Linked DNA regions of Homo sapiens: region 1 is linked to region 2. The links are contacts of gene promoters, found by promoter capture Hi-C in blood cells and fetal thymus (Javierre and others, 2016). All regions are on one chromosome and are shown on one strand. The core of a region is centred on a gene start or on the middle of the fragment in contact, and the rest is flanking DNA. Distances in the headings are between cores, read along the strand shown. Region 1 has its middle 6.3 kb from the start of ZNF22. Region 2 holds the start of TMEM72 (transmembrane protein 72).

Region 1 (2,700 bases), core at 138-2,637, 96 kb before region 2:
TGACTTCTGAAAATGACGTATGGTACTACAGCACAAGCAAAGGTCATGAGAGCATCATAAAAAGCCTATTATTGAACAAATACATGACACTACATTGGAGCCAGATGCCTTAGTGGGAAATGAGTTTTTTCTATAAAAATGTGCAGCCATGTGTATACGTTGTTTCATATTGTTGGTACTGTATCTTTGGAAACAAACTCTGGAAATATAATTTCTGGATCAGAGAGTAAATGCATATATACTTCTGCTAGATATTGCCAAATCCCTCCTCAGTATGGGTTGTAACATTTTGTATCCCACCATCAGCCTTAGTTTGGCTGGTTCTCCACAGCCTTACCAACAGAGTAGGTTTTACACTTTTGATACATAAGAAATAGTAGCTCCTTGTAGTTTTATTTCTCTTATTATTGTCCTTTCAGCCAAAGTCTAGCCACAAAAAGAGAAACCAGACCAATTATTCTAATAGAGAAAATGGAATACAGATGCTGGGTTAAACTGAAGTGGTGAACTTATCAGGCAAAGAAGAAACATGGACATAACAGAAAGTCTAACTAGCTATATTAAACTATGTGGAATACACAGAATGGACTCAGTTTTCTCACTGAACCTGAACTTCTCTTCATGACTGTTTGCCCCTGAATCATCATATTGTCCCCTCTTTGACTCACCTGCTTAAATTCTGATATTTAGCCTTTTAATCCCACTGAATAGAGAGGCTTCTTGTATCCTAGGGGACCCATTTAGATTGCCCTGAACATAGAGATATAACCAGGTTCTCTCTGGGATTTAAGGTTACTCATCTCAGAAGCTTCATTTAAATTGGCATACCCATCCTGAATTCCTGAATTCAAAAAATCTGTGCCTGAGATGTCTCTTGACAAATTGGGAGGTAGCATAACACATTAGTAACCTGGTGTTATGAACTTGGCACAGTTCCTGAAATGCTCTACGACGTAATCGACATTTATGACAAAGATAACATACAAAGAAACTTACAACTATGTCAGTTGATGTATATTGACGTAAAAGTTCTAAATAAAATACTGTCAGATATTATAACACCAGAATTATAAAATGCCATTACTTAGTAGGACTAAGTTGCTCAATCTATTCTGATACATTACCAACCATGTGGATCAAAGGAAAAAAATTATCATCCATAAAAAGACTATGAAAGATTTGTTCTTTCTATATTTAAATGCAATGATTCTAAGCAATAGAGCTATTTGTGCTTGGATTTACTGTAAGGAATGCAGCTATGAATTATGTTTCTGTCATTTTTGTCTCTTTCCATCACTCAGCAGTAAAATTTATCCATTTCAAACTGTTCTGGATTAATTTGCACCTCTTCTGAACAATAAAACAAGAAAAAAGTAATTCTTTCACCAGATGTCACAATGCTTTATTTGAAAAATGACAGAAAAGAATCTCTTAGTTATCAGTTTACTACAGAACTCTGAATTTAGGAAACAGCCATTATACTTATCCCTAAATGAGACTAAAATAGGCAGTCCCCCTATTTTACCAGTGTGGTGAGAAATCCTACTTTGGAGTCCCCTCAACATATCTAGGGTTACATTACAATCTAGCGCTTCATGTGGACCAGGAAATTGGAGGAAGGTCCTCTGGTCTTCAGTTCATCATGACTGCAATTGGGAAGTTCAATTGTCCAAGCTGGTTGGTCTGTTTGAAATCAATGTGCAACAGGGACCAGGCTCTTGCTCTTGGAGGTGAGTCCTCCTGGCACCCACTCAGCATCCTCTCATGGGTCCTGTCACACTCAGACTCTGCATGGTGGAGGGACAGTCACCCCTTTCTCCCATGTTTGAAGACACATATCAGTCTCAGGACAGATTTTCAACTTCCAGGGCTGATATCACAGGACATTCTAGCAACTCTGTGTGTGGGGACTTTCAACCCAGGCCAGAGAGTCATGGGATACAAATAAAACACACAAACAAGCTTTAATGCTGCCTTTAAGTCTCAGTAAGGAACAAAGAGAAGGGTCCCAGGACAAAAAAAAAAAAAAAAAAAAAAAAAAAAAAGGAAGTATGGAAGTATGGAAGTATTACAGAGTATCGGCTAGAAACAGAAAGACAATGTGGGGGAGGCGAGGCAGTGTTTCTCAATATGAACTCAAAAAGCTGTTTTTTCTCATCAGGCCACTAAAAGGATAGAACTTTTAAGACTGATGATTGGCTCCAGAGATGCACAAAAAAAGCAGGATGGGTGCATCAATCAGGACAGGTACCAAATCTACACTGAAATCTGTGGCCTATCTCAACAGTTTATTTCTCACTCATGGGATACCTAAAGCAGGTTGGCAAGAGACTCAGGAACTACCTAAATGTCAGCTCCACTTTGGCCTGGGAAATAGGAGCACAGAGAATCACCCAACAGCTTTTAAAAACATCACTAACTCAAATGGGCAGACCTAGTGTTGTTTCTCACAGCACTGTAAGGGTGCCAGGAAACGTGGGGTATTTGGGTATTTGCTCACCAAATATCCCTCTTTCCTCCTTCCACACACAACATACCTTCTACCCAAGGAAGACAACCCCAAATCCCATAGTCACTACACTCTGAAAACCCTGGGACATCTCTAGATCAAGGCTGGCTCCATCTATCTCCCACTGGTCCAGAGCTGTATTAACCAAAAACATCCCTCATCTGTGCTCCTCTCCACATACCCCAACACAG
Region 2 (2,700 bases), core at 118-2,617:
CAGTTCCACTTAGCCATGCTCAGTTCCTGCATCCTTAATCTGTCCAAACACCTGGCCAGCAGGTCCCCATCATACAGATCAGAAAGTGCAGCCTCAGAGGGGTCAGGGGCTCCCCAAGGTCATATATCACGCAAGTGACTAGGCTGGGGCAGGAACAAGCACTATGTGATTTTGACCTAGGAGAACTTTCCCATTTGGTAAGACCCGTGGGTAAGCTTTTGCCCAGTGGTGGGGAAGGGCTTTGATAGGGGGTGTGTCTCTCTTTGTCCCCAAGGGACAATGTGGCTCAGAGTTAAGGGCTCAGAATTCTGCCTGTTCATTTCCCCAAAACAGATCCTGGCTCTGTAGGGGGAATGGGGCTAAGGGTCAGGCCTGCCCTGGGGAAGCGAGCAGGCAGGGCTCAGGATGGTGGCTCTGGGCTCTGCTCTAACAGTCTGCCCTCCTGTCCAGTTGAGCAGCCCTGTGATTCTGCTGGGTGAAGGAAGGAGCCCAGCATCTCTGGGAAGCATCTCTGCTGCTAAGACCACAGTGCATTCCTGCAGTCAGACCTCAGACAGGGGTCTGGGTTCCTACAGGGTGTTCTGTTAACAGGGTCCAGCATGGGCCCGAGGGAAGCCTGTGATCTCCACGTCCAGCCAGGCTCAGCCTGTCCCTCCAGGGCAGAGCTGCTCATGACTGGGAGTTCTCTCTCCATGAGGTAGGGCTATGGTTTGAGTAAAGCAGGATGAGCTCAGTTGACCTTTTGTAGATACACAGCGAAGCCCAGCCCTTTCTATCTTCACCTTCTGTCTCCACCTCCATCTCATGACAACTCTCTGCGTAGGTGGGGTGGCCCCTGGAATCATTTTGCAGATGAGGATCTTGAGGCTTCCCAAGGTCACAGGGAGGGTGACTTGCCAAGCAAAGATCCAGCACCCAGCCCTCTGGTCCCCAGCCCTAGGCTCACCCCACTGCACTTGCTGCTGCTCTACAGAGCAGTGTTTCTAGGGGTCTTGGGAAAAAAATTGAAGCACAGAAGTGGCCAGATGTGCCTGCTGTCTCCTGGCCACCTCCCACCCCTCAGGCAGCCCTATCTGTGGTGCCAGTGTGCAAGGATCAGCAGCCAGGAGGCAGGGTCTTACCTGCAGCAGTGGTGATGCCCAGGAGCCGGCAGGTGTATTCCAGCCCAGTCCAGAACACCTGGAGCTGCATGGTGCCAGGGGTGAGGACAAAGTCCTGGCAGGGCAGGCAGCAAAGTCTTCGGCCCTGAGATGCTCCCGAACACCCTTGTGTAGGTAGGAGGCTGCTGGCTGTGGCTGCACACCGGGGCCCTGCCTTCCCAAACCAGTCCTGGCCACCGCAGCCTGGCCGAGGTGTGAATAGGGCTCACCTTCTGTGCTCTCAGCCCGTGCCCTTGCCAGGCACTCAGCTTAATCATTACCTTGGAAGAATGCTCCTGCTGCTCACACAACCCCAGCCTGGGCTGGAGCCGCTCAGCCCCAGCGCAGCCCAGCCGCCTGAGATCGGCGATTAGGGCTGGGCTGGAGGCAGTCTGGAGCTGGCAATTAACCGTTTCTGGCTGGGAGGAGGGAGCCAAGGAGTGGGCCAGGCCCTTCCTCACCAAGCCATGCCTAGAAAGTCACACCTGGATTTCACACTTGCTGGGGGCCTGTAGTGTCTGGCTCTGGAGGGGACAGTGCTCTTGCAGGTCTGTGCTTATGTGCATATGGGAGAGAGGAGTGTGTCTTTAAATCACCAGTAGAAACAACTTTTGAAATGAGTTCCAAGCTTTATTCTTCTGCGTATAGGTGGATTAGAAAGCTTTTCAAATCTGTCCCGGATTTGGACTCTGACTAGACATACTTAGCTCAGGCCCCGCCACGCAGAGGCCTTCCTTCCTCATTAACATGCATCCCAACATGGGACGTGGGAAATCATTTTGATTCTTTGTTTTGCGAGGGGAGTTGCTATGTCAATAATTAACCGGGTGACCTTGGGGAAACCCAAAGGCATCTGTGAGCCTTGGTAACTTTTGCAGAAAATAAATGTGAAGTTTTGGCTGAATTGGTGTTTTTGATGTACTTGGAGTGTCCCTGTAGCTGTTTCAAGGAGCCCAGCCTTTACACTTGGACAGTGGTGGGCTTTCCCTCATTCTTAATTTACTAACGGATGTGCTAGATTGAATGGTATTAAGATTTATCTCTCAGGTGTTTTTCTGAAATCTTTTACCCCTTTGCTCATATAAGATAGAAAACAAAACAACCAAATAAGGAAAAAAACTCCAAGCAAACCCAATACACATGCTCCTCAACTTATGATGGGGTTATGTCCCAAAAAACCCATCAGACATTGAAAATATTTTAAGTTAAAAATGCACTTAATCCAACCAACCTACTGAACATCAGAGCTTAGCCTGGCCTACTTAAATGTGCTCAGAACACTTAGTTTATGGTTGGGCAAAATCATCTAACACAAGGTTTATGTTATAAAGTGTGGAGTAGCTCATGTAAGAATATATTGTAGGGCATGTTGCTAGCCCAGGAAAACATCAAAATCCAAAATTTAAAGTACAATTTCTACTGAATGTACATCATTTTCACACCATCCTAAGTTGAACCATGGAAAGCCAAGGTCTGCCAATAATAACGGAAAACTCAAGAACAATTAGTTTGGCCCTTCCCTCCCCTCCCTTCCCCTCCCCTCCCTCCCCTTCTCCTTCCC

The links. The method cuts DNA at HindIII sites, captures the fragments that hold promoters and counts their contacts. A CHiCAGO score of 5 or more calls a contact.
Region 1: a fragment that was not itself captured here is called in contact with the fragment with the promoter of TMEM72 in region 2 in 1 of 17 cell types (neutrophils); the score reaches 6.1 in neutrophils.

The regions. Positions count from the first base shown.
Region 1 is chr10:45,005,890-45,008,589 of GRCh38, reverse strand. No RefSeq gene overlaps it. Among named protein-coding and RNA genes, the nearest start is that of ZNF22, 6.3 kb to the right of the region's middle. The HindIII fragment of the contact is 1,154 bases long and covers 811-1,964 here.
Region 2 is chr10:44,910,004-44,912,703 of GRCh38, reverse strand. It overlaps TMEM72 (transmembrane protein 72), which reads right to left and starts at 1,367. Exons shown (of 5, transcript NM_001123376.3): 1 at 1,122-1,367. The coding sequence starts at 1,191. The region is part of intron 2 of TMEM72-AS1 (TMEM72 antisense RNA 1); the gene reads left to right. The HindIII fragment of the contact is 1,552 bases long and covers 218-1,769 here.